Regions from separate parts of the Homo sapiens genome. Here regions 2, 3 and 4 are each linked to region 1. Evidence: promoter capture Hi-C in human tissues and cell types (Jung and others, 2019). All regions are on one chromosome and are shown on one strand. The core of a region is centred on a gene start or on the middle of the fragment in contact, and the rest is flanking DNA. Distances in the headings are between cores, read along the strand shown.

Evidence for each region. The method cuts DNA at HindIII sites, captures the fragments that hold promoters and counts their contacts. A contact is called where the count stands out against the background at its distance.
Region 2: a contact is called between a fragment that was not itself captured here and the fragment with the promoter of UBE2E1 in region 1, in 1 of the 25 tissues and cell types used here (mesendoderm cells).
Region 3: a fragment that was not itself captured here is called in contact with the fragment with the promoter of UBE2E1 in region 1 in 1 of the 25 tissues and cell types used here (lymphoblastoid cells).
Region 4: a contact is called between a fragment that was not itself captured here and the fragment with the promoter of UBE2E1 in region 1, in 1 of the 25 tissues and cell types used here (mesendoderm cells).

Annotation. Positions count from the first base shown.
Region 1 is chr3:23,804,168-23,807,865 of GRCh38, forward strand. UBE2E1 (ubiquitin conjugating enzyme E2 E1) reads left to right here and starts at 1,788. Exons shown (of 6, transcript NM_003341.5): 1 at 1,788-1,921; 2 at 3,070-3,254. The coding sequence starts at 3,103. UBE2E1-AS1 (UBE2E1 antisense RNA 1) reads right to left here and starts at 2,738. Exons shown (of 2, transcript NR_046652.1): 1 at 2,652-2,738; 2 at 1-547. RefSeq lists silencers at 1,724-1,833, 1,914-2,043, 2,234-2,533, 2,734-2,913 and an enhancer at 3,214-3,303. The HindIII fragment of the contact is 15,489 bases long and covers 1-3,698 here.
Region 2 is chr3:23,363,947-23,367,644 of GRCh38, forward strand. All of the region lies in intron 3 of UBE2E2 (ubiquitin conjugating enzyme E2 E2), which reads left to right. Among named protein-coding and RNA genes, the nearest start is that of UBE2E2, 160 kb to the left of the region's middle. The HindIII fragment of the contact is 3,973 bases long and covers 47-3,698 here.
Region 3 is chr3:23,423,589-23,427,286 of GRCh38, forward strand. The region is part of intron 3 of UBE2E2 (ubiquitin conjugating enzyme E2 E2); the gene reads left to right. Among named protein-coding and RNA genes, the nearest start is that of UBE2E2, 220 kb to the left of the region's middle. The HindIII fragment of the contact is 3,466 bases long and covers 28-3,493 here.
Region 4 is chr3:23,539,509-23,543,206 of GRCh38, forward strand. All of the region lies in intron 5 of UBE2E2 (ubiquitin conjugating enzyme E2 E2), which reads left to right. Among named protein-coding and RNA genes, the nearest start is that of UBE2E1, 260 kb to the right of the region's middle. The HindIII fragment of the contact is 7,012 bases long and covers 1-3,698 here.

The DNA of each region.
Region 1 (3,698 bases), core at 538-3,037:
TTTCAATTTTAATAACTATTTTTAGATTATTTTCCTCATCCTGAGTTTATTTCATCTTCTTATTGTTTTCTTCTGAATTTACATCTTTTCATCAGAACAAAAAGAATACAATCAGTTTTTCAGAAGTTTAAAAAATTTTTTCAAATATATAGCAAAGAATGTCATCATTTTTATATACTCTACCAGGACTCCTGAAACCAAACACTTAAGAAAGGTTATGTCTGGAAATTTTTTCAAAATCTATATGCATTTCAGTGGTGGAGAAATAGTTCTGTCTGGAAGCAGGAGGCTGAAATTATGACCCTGAAGATTTCTTCCAGCTTTTGAACTTCTTATTCTATGACAACTCCTGGTAGATACAGGTTTCCTGGTAGGGATTGAGCAAGAAGCATGCACAATTACTTTATGAGTCTTGATAAAGCTGGAATTTCAGGTTGATGGTTAGAAGGAGTTCGGCTGGGTCGTGAGAATGCTTGTTTTCCTGGTTACTGGATATGCCATGGGCTGTATATCTTGTGTTGTCCTGTGGTAACTGAAGCCACTGTTGCTGTGGAAAATGATGGCAGTTTGAATGAGATAATTTAGAGTGACCTATGGAAATCTGAGGCTGTCTCCTTAATGTACAAGACCTTGTATGTGTGGCACTGTTGTATTTGAATGGCACACATCTCTTTAGTTCCCTTCAACTGAAATGACAAAAGGTGAGAAACTGAATCGTAATTTGATGGCTTAATATTAAAAAAAAATTGGCAAAAATGCTAAATAAGGAACAATTCAGAAGAATTGCTGATCATTTCAAAAATATTATTTGCATAGCATTTATAGGTAGCTAAAGAAAGAGAAAAATGGCTTAATATTTTAAAAATAATTTGGTCAATTTAGCGATCTGGGGATTCTGCGATCCCCAGAACTTTGCATCCAATTTCCAAAAACCAAACCTTACATCTAATGTAAAATGACACAAAAAATTCTAAATCCAGTCTAATTCAGTAGTATATAGCTTATTCCCAGTGATGTCTCACATTCGCAAGCCCGTTACACGTTGGTTTTACCTGTCACCAAAACCTTTGTATCACTCTTATAAAAAACCACATCACTTTCTATAAAAAGTGAGTGGAAGAATCTAATATTGTAAAACTGCACGTGCCTCGCGTGACCTGAGCAGAAAATTCCTAGTTTGGGATTTTCTCACAGGCATACCTAAACTGACCTCTGCTCCTAGCAGGTAAATTGCTAGAAGGAGAAGCAAGTGTCAGTCCAAAGAAAACCCTTGTTGTGTGATTTTTTTTTTCTCTTTAATCGCTTTTTAGGTGGAGTACCCGCTGCATTCTCTAAAGTCTTTGCCACCACCAGATTACCAACGTTTTCACCAATTTGCCACCTCCCTACTCCTCTCCTTTCCAAAAGCCCTCATTGGAAAGAACTTTCTCTCGTGACCCCCCTATTCCATCTAGTTCCAATCACTCCCAGCGCCCCCCATCTCCATCGGCTTCCCCTCTCCCGCCCAGAATCCAGGTTCCCAAACCACTTAAGAGAAAATTCACAACCCTCGCCCCCTTCCCGGGCGTCCGGAGGAGGCGCTGGGGTGGGGGTGTCTGTGGGGGACAGGGTTTCCTGGGGTCTCCTGGGTCTTCCTCGCGCACCCCCAGGAGGTGTTGCAGGGGGAGGGGAGCGCGGGTGGGTGGGACCGGGCCGGGTGGGGGAGGGGTGAGGGCGAGGAGGAGGAGGAGGAGGAGGCGGCGGCGGAGGAGTGGTGTGTGTGCGAGCGTGTGTGGCTGGGGGAAGCCATTGCCTGTTTAATAGTTGCTGTTGCTGCACTTCCGCTTCTCTCCCAGCGAGAGAGAGACACGAGTGGCCAGGCCCAGCCGCAGCCGCAGCAGCAGCCGCCGCGGCGGCACGGAGGAGCCAGACACAAAGAGAGGTACGGGGATCCCCCCAGCGGCCCGCCGCCCCCCGGCCGCGCCGCCGGGCCTCGGGGACACCCCTCGCCGCCTCCCCCGACTCGCGCCGCCGGGGCCGCCGGGCCGCAGGGCACGGGGCCGGCGCGGGGGGGGAGCGGAGAGGGGCTGGGGAGCCCCAGGGGTCCGGGGCCCGCCCGCGGGGGATGGGCAGGGACCCCGGGCCGCGTGGGGTGCGGGGGCCGCCCGCATTGAGGACGGGGGTCATTGTGGCTCGAACTGTCAGCGCTGCCCCAAGAGCCCCCCACTGGCCACCGAGGGGCCCGGGAGCGGGGGTGGGAGGGAGTTGGGGGAGCCCCGTTTTCCCCAGGGGCGGGGGTTCGCGGGGATTAACCCCTCCGGGGCGGAAGGGCTCATTGTTATGTCTTCGCTGCGGAGGCCGACCCCCCCATTCCCCGCCGCAGCCCCTATCCCCCTACAGGAGTGGCGATCGGGCGTGTGCTCCGGACCCCCGCCCGGCCGCATAGCTGTGAGCAGGGCGGCCAGAGGCAGGCAGGCCGGGAGGGGCGTCGGGGCGCGGCGCGGGGGGGCCTCGGGCCTCGTCGCCCCTGCCCCCCGCCGGCCTCTCCCTTCCCCCACCCGGGCACCCGCTCCCCGCCTCCGTCCCCCTGTTTCGGCTTCCTCTCTTACTCCTTCCCGCCCCTCCTCTCTTCCCGACCTCGCCAAACTCCGCTCGTGGCCCCACAGTCTCACCCGGGCCACCGGCCCCTCACGACCCCCGGAAAGCGGACAAAAACAGCCCCGAGGCCGGCCGGCCGCCGGGACCTTCCCTCCCTGCCCCGCCGTGGCGCCCCGCGCCCCCCGCCCTGCCCTCCTTCGCCTCCCGGGCTACTCCCTCCCTGCCCAGCGGAGAGCCCCGGGGGGCGAGGGAGGGGCCTCTCTCCTAGCTCCAGACCGTTTTCCCACAGCGTTCCCCACTTGGGGCCAAAAATAAACAAGCCGCGTCCGATTTGCAAAAGCCTTAATGGGCCTGCAGACTTTGAAAAGCGAGTGGAGGGCGGTGGGCGGCCGCGTGCGCCCCTGGTCAATGCCCTCCTGACAGCACCCGAGTTCCTTATTTACACTGGCTGCATGGTTTGTGTGTTTCTGTTTTGTTTCTCTCCCCCTGCAGGGGCTGTTTGCGGGGTGGGGTGGGGGGTTCGCTATGTCGGATGACGATTCGAGGGCCAGCACCAGCTCCTCCTCATCTTCGTCTTCCAACCAGCAAACCGAGAAAGAAACAAACACCCCCAAGAAGAAGGAGAGTAAAGTCAGCATGAGCAAAAACTCCAAACTCCTCTCCACCAGCGCCAAGAGGTACTGTGCTCTTTTTTTTTTCCACAGGCTTCCTATTTCCGAACTGCCTCTTGCTGCATTTGGTCTGCCTCCCAATGAGGATAGCTTAAACGCTCCTCATGGTTTATGTGTTCTTAAAAATGAAAGAAGGGCCTTGGAAGCCCTAATTATTTTCTCTATTGCTGCTTCTGTTTTTAAATCATTGCTCACATGCAGCTGTTGCGGCTTGCCTCTCGCATTTCTTGCTGAAGTTTGTAAGATTCCTCGTTACTTTTATTAGTGACCCCCAAATCTGATTTCAGATTTCTTGTCCTACTAATGGTTAATCTGTGACCTTCCCCAAGGCCATGATCCCATTTCTTAATTACTAATACCAGCCCAGAGAACTGCATCAAAATGAATTCTGTGACCATTTTACCTTCTCCTCACCTGTTGCATGGATGATCTTTTCTAAATAGAGCTTTC
Region 2 (3,698 bases), core at 783-3,282, 440 kb before region 1:
TCAGACCAAAGCACAATAAAAATAGAAATCAATACTAAGAAAATTGCTCAAAAGCATACAATTACATGGAAATTATATAACCTACTCCTGAATGACATTTGGGTAAACAATGAAATTAAGGCAGAAACCAAGTACAACATACCAGAATCTCTGGGGCACAACTAAAGCAGTATTAAGAGGGAAGTATATAGCACTAAACACCCAGAGAAACGGACTAAAAAGTTAAAAGTTAAAAGGATCTCAAGTTAACCTAACATCACACCCAGAGGAACCAGAGAAATGAGCAAACCAACCCCAGAGCTAGCAGAAGACAACAGATAACCAAAATCAGAGCTGAAATGAAGGAAACTGAGATGTAAAAAACCATACAAAAGATCAACAAGTACAGAAATTGATTCTTTGAAAGAATAAATAAGATTGATATGCCACTAGCGAGACTAATAGAGAGAGAGACAGAAGATCCAAATAAACAGAATCAGAAATGACAAAGGGGACATTACCACCAACCCAACAGAAATACAAAAAAACCCCAGAGACTACTGTGAACACCTCTATGCATGCAAACTAGAAAATCTGAAAGAAATGGATAAATGCCTGGAAACATACGACCTCCCAAGATTGAACCAGGAAGAAGTTGAATCCATGAACAGACAAATAATGAATTATAAAATTGAATCAGTAATAAAAAGCCTGCCAATCACAAAAATCCCAGGACCAGACAGATTCACAGCCAAACTACTGAATGTGTAAGGAAAAGCTGGTACTATTCCTACTGAAACTGCTCCTACAAATTGAGGTGGAGGGAATCCTCTCTAATTCATTCTGTGAGGCTAGCATCATTATGATACCAAAACCTGGCAGAGACACAACAAAAAAGAAAATCTTAGGCCAATATTCCTGATGACCATAGAAGCAAAAGTCCCCAACAAAATACTAGCAAGCCAAATTCAGCAGCACATCAAAAAGTTAATCCACTGTGATCAAGTAAGCTTTATTCCTGGGATGCAAAGTTAGTTCAGCATACACAGATCAATAAATGTGATTTGCCACAAAAACAGAATTATAAACAAAATCACATGATCCTCTAAATAGATGCAGGAAAAAAAGCTTTTGATAAAATTCAATATCCCTTCATGTTAAGAACCCTCAACAAACTAGGCATTGAAGTAATGTACTTCAAAATAATAAGAGCCACCTATGACAAACCCACAGCAAACATCATACTGAATGGGCAAAAGCTGGAAGCATTCCCCTTGAGAACCGGAACAAGGCAAGGATGCCAACTCTCACCACTCATACTTAACCATAGTACTAGAAGTCCGAGCCAGAGCAATCAGGCAAGAGAAGAGCAATGCCAAGAGGAAGAGAGGAAGTCAAACTATTTCTGTTTGCAGATGATATGGTTCTATAACTAGAAAACCCCATAGCCACTGCCCAAAAGTTCCTAGATCTGATAAACAACTTCAGTAAAGTCTCAGAAGACAAAATCAGTGCACAAAAACCAGTAGCATTTCTATACACCAACATCATCTAAGCTGAGAGCCAAATCAAGAACACAATCGCATTCACAATAGCTACAAAAAGAATAAAATACTTAGGATTGCAGCTAATCTGGGAGGTGAAAGATCTCTAAATGAGAATTACAAAACACTGCCCAAAGACATCATAGGTGACACAAATGGAAGAACATTCCATGCCCATAGATAGGAAGAATCAAGATTGTTTAAAATGGCCATACCACCCAAAGCAGTCTACAGATTCAGTGCCATTCCTATCAAACTACTGATGACATTCTCCATAGAATTAGAAAAATTATTTTTAAATTCGTATGGAACCAAAAAAGAGCCTGAATAGCCAAAGCAGTCCTAAGCAAAAAGAACAAGGTTGGAGGCATCACATTACCCAACTTCAAACTATATTACAAGGCTACGATAACCAAAAAAGCACAATAGTGGTACAAAAAGAGACACACAGACCAATGAGACTGAATAGAGAGCTCAGAAATAATGCCAGACATCTACAATCATCTGATCTTTGACAAAGTCGACAAAAACAAGCTATGGGGAAAGGACTTTCTATATAATAAGTGGTGCTGTGATAACTGGCTAGCAATTTGCAGTAGATTGAAACGAACCATTAGAGAAATGCAAATCAAAACCACAGTGAGATACCATCTCACACCAGTCAGAATGGCCATTATTAAAAAGTAAAAAATAATAGATGCTGTTGAGGTTGTGGAGAAAAGGGAACACTTATACACTGCTGGTGTGTGTAAATTAGTTTAGCCATTGTGGAAAGTAGTGTGGCAATTTCTTGAAGAACTTAAAACAGAAATACCATTCAACCCAGCAATCCCTTTATTGGGTATATACCTGAAGGAATATAAATCATTCTCCACAAAGACGCATGTGTGTGCTCATCACAGCACTATTCACGATAGCAAAGTCTTGGAATCAACCTAAATACCCATCAGTGGTAGACCAGATAATGCAGTATGGATATACCATGGAATACTATGCAGCCATTAAAAAAGAATGAGATCCTTCGCTTTGCAACAACATTGATGGAGCTGAAAGCCATGATGCCCCATGTTCTCTCTTACAGGTCAGAGGTAAACATTGAGTACACATGCACACAAATAAGGGTACAACAGACACCAGAGCCTCCTAGGGTGGAGGGTGGGAGGAGGGAGGGGATTGAAAAACTGCCTGTTGGGTACTATGCTTATTACCTGGGTGACAAAATAATCTGTATACCAAACCCCTGTGACATGCAATTTACCTGTATAACAAACCTGCACGTGTACCTCTGAACCTAAAAGTTAAAAAAAAGAAGAAAAAAATACCCTGGGATCAGACATTTAGAGTAAATTGTGAAAAATTACACTAAAACTTAGACATATAAGTTGATTTTAGTTCAATTAAGAAAATTTGTATAACAGAAACTATGTTCTAATTATAGAAGAACAATGAAAATTAGTGTTTATTGGTATTTTTTGTATGTACAATAGCACATAATTTTTACAAAAAAATAGTAAATTGCTTCTATCAGTTTTTCTAAGGGACTCTCTTAGTCCTTGGCAGACAAGTCATTCTGAAGAATTTATCCTGTCATTATCCTTTTTGATTTTCTCATCAGGGCCTTTGAATGTGATCCTGCAGTTCTCCATCATCCCTTTAATGGATTTCATGAAATCTTTTAAGTGATTTTCAGTTTCATTATAAAATGGAATTAATTTGCCCTGTGTTTGTTGACAAACCAATCTTTATGATAGAATGGCTGTGATATATTTGGTTTACAATCCAGTTTCTTGGTATTAGAAACTCTGAAGTGATGTCTTTTTGTTTGCTTATGAGTTGACTGATGGCTGGCAGCATCTAGGTAGCTTCATGATGGGGGCTGGTCACTGGAAAAACCAAGGCAGGATTAGAGGGGTGGGGCTGAAAGTCACACCAACATCTGTGCTGAAAGTTAATTTGATCACCAATGGCCAGTGGTTTAATCAATCATGCTTATGTTATGAAACCTCCATAATAACTCGAAGGGTTTGGAGAACTGCTTGATGACTGATCACGCAGAGGGTGGTATGCCCAGGAAAGGCATGGAAGCTCTGTGCCCCTTCCCCCCATACCTTGCCCTATGCATGTCTTCATCTATATCCCTTGCAGTATCTATGTGGAAGTAAGCTTAAGTATTTG
Region 3 (3,698 bases), core at 511-3,010, 380 kb before region 1:
ATTACTTTATAACACACTAATGCCATAATCTATATAATGCTTGCATGTCCAGTGCGTGTATTTATTTCTAGATCAGTGATTGTAATAGGTACTAGGTGCTTAAAAATACCTATACTGGAATATAAGCAATTACATTTTTTCAAAATGTATGGAGTCTTTATTATGATACTCATGAATGTTTTTAATGAGAATATGATAATAAACCCTACATCTCTTCCTAAATCTCCGATCAGTAGTAGTGTGACCTGGTGCTACCTATCAGAAGAATGAGGGCCCTCCCTTAGCAGTGGAGTACTGAAAACTGTATCTCTGCCTCTCCTCCTTCACACCCTCCTTCAATTCATGATCCTCAGGGAGACTTATTTTGCCTAGTTTAGTTACTGAGTCTGGTGGTTGACCTCTTGAGTAATGAAAGGACATTACTGAGAATTTTGAGAGTGCTGAGAGTGAGTGGATACTTTTAAGGTTTTCTCTTCAAGCTTTTGTTCCCTAATTTGGAAAGGTAAGTAATGTTTGATAATCTTACTAAATTCCACAGTTATTTATTCTCTCAAACCCTTCAGAAAATACCCAATTGAATAAGATATAAATGTTTAAGGAACTTTTTTTTCTATGTTGAACCAGATAAATCTAAGAAATAAAAGAAAAGCTACATAATCTGCAGTATAATATTAATGAAAATACAGCAGAGACTTGCAGTTACCATGTTAAGGTACAGATGATTTCCTAAATGAATTCATTTGTCTATGATCAGTAACTAAAGAAGCAGCTAGCTGGGGTATCTACTCTTGTAGGGGAGCAGGTAGCCTTTCTGGGAGGAGAGCACATATTAACTGACTTAAACACCTTTGTTTTTTTTTTTTTCTGTATTTGCTTTAAGTGATACTGAATTTGATGGCTTTTTCTTTGGCTTGCTAAGGATAAAATGTAGAAAATTTAATTCTGCTTGGATTAATGAACATATTTTTAGAATCTTGTACAAATTGTAGCACTAATGAAAGGTCCTCTGCTCCAGGCATAAGGTTTCATTTAAGAATGAAAAAGCAAATTGAGCTAATGTATTGTGTAAGAGGTTTGTAGTTAAATACATAAAATGATGTCAGTTTGATTTCAGCTGGAGCTAAGGTACTCTGATAGCTATGAGATGTTAAAATAATAGAAACATTTAAAGAAGTATGATAGCTGAATTTTATATAAATAAAGTAGTTTGATTTTTTATAACTGGTAGCGTTTATTTTACTTCAGTGATTTGGCAGAGGTACTAAGCCAAATAATTTTTAAATTGGTTTTATCTTAAATTGGTTATATCTGGTGGTAACATTTATGGATAATTAGAGTCAAAATAAGCAATTGTTTCATCCTTTTCTACTTTACCATGTTTTAAACATTTGAGTTTGGAAAACTTAAATTATATACAAAGTAGAAAATTAGTATAATAAAGACTTTAAATCACATTTATCAATGCACAGGGAATCGTGTTTTAACTATACCCCCACCAAACATATCTTGCCTCAGATTTTAAAGCAAATTCCAAGTGTCAATCCTTTCCTTATAAATATTTCAGTATGTATCCTTGAGTAAGTCCATAAGGACTAATTTCTTTTAGCATAACTATAATGCCATTAAAACAGCTACTTTTTAGTTGCAGATAAGAAGTAGGGTAGGAATTGCTGGGGTCTAACCCAGTTCTGATGACATTAAATAGATCCTAGATAGTTGGACAAATCATTTAACTTTCTTCTCTTCCTGCTCTCTTGTCTTTTAAAGGGGGAAGCTCAACTAAATTTTCTTTAAAATCCCATCTGTCTCTGAAATTTGTTAATTTAAAAAATTAGACTTCTAGTTTCCAGACTAGCATGTAAGGAGCTTAGAAGTCATTACGTCAAAAAATAAACAGGTTAAAAAGCTGAACAAACTGAAAAATTAACAGTTCTTCTTAGATCTGTTATAGAAGCAAGGTTACAGGGTAAACCACTCCCACCACCCCCAGATTGAAGAGACAGGCAAATACAGAGAACAGGAGCAGAAGCCTCTGCAGGAATCAGCATCACAGTAGGAAAACCTGAACTGCAATTGATAAATTGCTGGGGCTCAGGATATACAAGCTTGAGAGTGAAAAACTTTAGGGGTGACGAGTCATGAGACCTAATCATAGGACTATAGAATGCTCTACCCTCCCCCGCTTTCTTACCCCCACTTTCTTAGCCCTATTTTCTGCAGTTCCTTTTACCCAATTCACCATGTCCAGCTCTCAAGAAAAAAATTACAAGTGTACTAGAAGGCAAATAATACACTTCGAAGAGACAGAACAAGCAACAGAACCAGATTCAGATATGGCAGGGCTCTTGAAATTATCATATCAGGAATTTAAAACAACTATCATTAAAATACTAAGGGCTCTAGGGATAAAGTAGATGCCATGGAAGAGCAGATGGGCAATGTAAGCAGAGAGGTGGAATTCTAAGAAAGAATCAAAAAGAAATGCCAAAGGTGAAAAACAGTGAAATAAAAATGAAGAATGTTTTAAATGAGTTCATTGGTAGACTTGACACAGCTGAGGAAAGAATCTAAAACCTTGAGTATATGTCAGTAGAAACTTCCAAGATAGAAAAGTAAAGGGAAAAAAGACTGAAATAAACTGAACAGAATATCCAAGAACTGTGGAACAACAATAGGTGTATCATATGCATGATGAGAATACCAAACGAAGTAAAAAAGGAAAGGAACAGATTAAATATTTGAAGCAGGAACAACAGAAATTTTCCTGCAAATTAATGTCCCACACTAAACCACAGATTCAGGAAGCTCAGAAAGCATTAGGATAAATGCAAAAAAAAAAAAAAAAAGCTACACATAGTCATATCATATTCAAATTACAGAAAATCAGTGATTAAAAATCTGGAATGAAGCCTGATGGGGTGTGCAGGGAGACCTGACTTAGAGAATTATATCCAACATTTCCTCAGAAACCATGCACACAATAAGAGAGTGAAGTGAAATAATTAGTGTTGAGAGAAAAAAACTTCCAGCCAAAAATTCCATACCCTGCAAAGTTATTCTTCAAAAGTGAAGAAGAGGTAAGACTTTCTAGCTAAACAAAAATTGAGAGAATTTGTTGCCAGCAGATCTGCTTTGCAATAAATGTTAAAAGAAGTTCTTCAGAGAGAAGGAAAATGACATAGGTCAAAAACTGGGATCTCCATTAAAAAAGGAAGAACATCACAGAAGGGATAAGTACAGGTAAAATTTTAAATTTTTTATTTTTCCTATTTTTAATGGACAGATCAATCTGTACAAAATAATAGCAACAATATATTGTGTGCGTATACACACACACATATATATATACTTATCTAAAAGTAGAAAGAAATAACAACAATGGTACCAGGGATGAGATGGAAGAATTAGTATTATTTTGTTATTAAGTACTTGTGTTACCTGTGAACTGGTATATATTTGAAATATATTTATTTGAAAGTAGGCTTCGATTAGTTTTAAAGGTATTTTGCAAACCCTAGGAGAATCATTTTTCAAAAAGTTAAAGAAGTATGGCCAGGCAGGGTGGCTCATGCCTGTAATTCCAGCACTTTGGGGAGGCTGACATGGGCAGATTGCTTGAGCCCAGGGGTTCAAGACCAGCCTGGGCAACATGTTGAAACCCCATCTCTACCAAAAAAAAAAAAAAAAAAAAATTAGCC
Region 4 (3,698 bases), core at 330-2,829, 260 kb before region 1:
AAATAAGAAAATACAGTGTTGTGTTTATCATCTTCATGTATCTTTTCCTTACTTCTGTTTCCTTACTTCTAACGCAGGGAGTATCTGTCAACTTTACTTGACCTATAAAGTGCTACCAGCATTTTTAAAGTAGGAAGGTAAATCCCTTAGAGTGGGAATCTGTGGTTCCTTTTCTGTTTCTTTTTGACTGTTACAGAGTTGTTCACGCATCCATTTCAGGTTTCTGATTGGTGTGTTCTGTAATAGCAGGTACAGTAAAATCTTACTAGTTCAGTATAATTGAGAAAAGATCAGACTGATTTTTTTTAATGAATTGGAAATTTTCACTAAGTGAAGACGTAATAATTTTAAGTACATATAGGAAATATTAGGTAAAATGTGTGAACTAGATGGCCTCTAGACTCTCCTTTACCAAGGAAAAGGCTGAAGTGGGTTTTTCACACATTCACAAAAAATAGAGAAAATGGTTATTATAAGTCCCAGTGTGTCCCTCACCCAGCTTCAGAACTCACCTATATTTAGTAAGGTTTAGGAATTAGGGTTTTTTGTTTATTATTTATTTATTTATTTTTAGAGATGGGGTCTTGCTCTGTCTCCCAGGCTGGAGGGCAGTGGTGTCGTCATAGCTCTCTGCAGCTTCGAACTCCTGCACTCAAGCAACCCTCCTGCTTCAGCCTCCCGAGTAGCTAAATATTCTCAGATAATATTGTTTTAATACCATTAATTTTCATGAAAACCATTTTTAAACAAGACCTAGTAAATGTCAGAACAGGTTGCTGCATCAGAATTAAGTTAGCAGTGGTGAACTTAAGGGTATGTTACTAAAAGATACAGCATGTGCCCTGTGGAAGATAAGCCACTGAGTAAAGTTTGATGCCCTTTTGTTTGTTTGTTTGTTTGTTTGTTTGTTTGTTTTGAGACAGTTTCACTCTGTCTCCCAGGCTGCAGTGCAATGGTGCGATCTCAGCTCACTGCAACTTCCACTTGCTGGGTTCAAGCAATTCTCCTGCCTTAGCCTCCTGAGTAGCTGAGATTACAGGCGCGCACCACCACGCCCAGCTAATTTTTGGATTTTTAGTAGAGACGGGGTTTCACCATGTTGATCAGGCTGGTCTCAAACTCCTGACCTCGTGATCCTCCTGCCTTGGCCTCCCGAAGTGCTAGGATTACAGGCATGAGCCACCGTGCCTGGCAGACTGACACCTTTTTAAAAAAATAGAGAGAGAGATGAAACCTCATTCTGTTGCCTATGCTGGACTGTAGTGGCACAATCAGAACTCACTGCAGCCCCCTACCGGAACTCCTGGGCTCAAGTGGTCTCAAGTGATCCTCCTGCCTCAACCTCCCAAGAGCTGGGACTATAGGCACATGCCACCATACCCAGCTAGTTTAAATGTGAAATCAGGCTTTTTAAATGTGAAATTTTTAAACATGAAATTAAGAGAAATTATTTAAACAGCATGTTTAAACAATACATATTTGAAATTAAAATAATGCATTGTTAGTGTTATGGAAATTCCAATCTGAAACAGCATAATAAAACAACTCTAATTATTCAGTAATTGACTTGTGTGGACAAAACATCCAGATGATTGAATGACATTTTCTCTTTTTACTGTGAATACTTAAGATTGTACAGTATCTTGGGAGAAATGTTGTAATTATGAAAATTTGAAGAATTAATGTAACACTACCAATGTCTGAGTCAGATCCCATAACAAATGGGCAGTTCTCTTTATTTTACTTATTTTCTGACTCAACTTTTCATTCAGTATCTAGCCTGGGCAAGGTGCTATCAGTAACAACACTCACAGTGCCTCTTCCTCAGAAAAGAAAGCGCTTCCAAAATGTCAGATTAATTATTCCTATACAACTGTAATAACTACTTTCTCTTTTTCTTCTCTTCATATTTGTTCTTTAGTAGATCCTGGAGCTTAATGTGTATTATGGCTGTTGAATTTTTCATGTCATATTGGTGAATAATTCACACAATAAGCAGTACAAGAGTTTGCCTAAATTACTAGCATATTTCTTTCTGGAGCAGGTCTGTTCCTGGAAAAAATTACAAATCAGAATATTTTACATGTATTGGAAGAACTTTCTGCTTAAGAGTATCCTACAGGGAAACCTGTTGCCACATGAAGCTTTTATAAAGTTGAATTTTTGGAAAATGCAATGGTTCTTCCCCACCACCGCCCCAATTCAGCACTGTCTTCCTTCTGAAAGCATTTTCCCAAATAAGACATATTGTTTGTGCTATTCAAGTGCCTCGGCCAACCAACAAATGCCTATCTGACTATGTGCCTATAGGCTGATGTAGTTAGTACCTTTTGACGTGACTCTTTACACCAGTGAGGTAAACCACCTTCCTTGCATACATTGTGACCACATGTGTACTCCAGTGACTTTCTTGTCCAGACTGGCTGGCTCCTGTGATGGAAAAAATGTTCATACACAGACTAATTTAAATACATAAGGGAAACTAGGAAGAGTGCAGGCCTAGAGAAGATGTCTTCATAGTTTATCTAGCTTTGGATGCCAGCATTATATTTTTATAAGAAAAACTCTAGAAAAGAGTTCAGCTTACAATGCATGAATAACCCCGCATCACTGGGGCAAAGGCATATTAGAGTGCCAGCCACCCGTGGTCATCGTAGGAGGGTACATTTATCTGAGGGATGTGTATTTTTTAATCTTGGTAATAGCCTACTAGGGATGGTATATTTTAACTTCAGCCTTACTATAAATGGTTCTGTATCTGCGGGTAATGCATCTTTTCTGTAGATTCATAATCAAAATAATGTGGTTAGCTTAGAGTTGGGGTTAATCATATATGAGTTCAAAAAGTTAATAGTCCATGTCCAATTTGGTAAAAGTTTGTAAGTGAAAAATTACTATTTGGGGGAAGTTTTTGTTTGCTTCTTTGATTTGCTGGAGAAATGATTTAAAGTTGCAGTATTGTAACTAGGCAAAGAAGCCTTTGATTTAGATACATGTGGGAGTTGCATTTGGGGAACTTAGGCCATGTGTATCTTCATAGTATTCATGGTGGAGAGAGAGTGTTTTCAGGTGAAAAAGAAAGTTTTAGATTCATTCCTTAATAAAATGTATTTTCTGTATTGGCTTTTTGTTATTTTCAAAATTGATGTATCTTTATTATTTTTTCTTATACAAATAATACCTGCTTATTAATTTTTAAAAATCAGTCGTCTTTTCAAGATAAGTATTTAATTTTTATTTGAGGCTCTTTGCTCTGGGAACTCAAATTTGGTGGGACCCAGCAAAGTATATTTGTCAGTTAAGTTTGTCTGGTTATAATCTTGGTGTAAATTTAGACACGTTGACCTCAGGGATTTAGCCTTGGCTTTGACCTGCTTTTGCTTAGCATTTCCCTATGCATATTTTATTGTCTCTTAATTAATATAAATGTCGACATGGATTAGCTGTTGATACAAATTTTCTTTTATAAAGTCCATTGCTCTCCCTGCAGTAGTAACCTCTAATTGGTTGGTTTAGAAGTTGATCTTGGCTAGGTGGCTCATGCCTGTAATCCCAGCACTTTTGGGAGGCCAAGGCAGGAGGATCACTTGAAGCCAGGAGTTCAAGACTAGCCTAGGCAACAAAGTGAGACCCTGTCGCTACAAAACATAACAAACACTTTTACCACTTCTATTCAACATAGTACCAGAAGTCCTAGC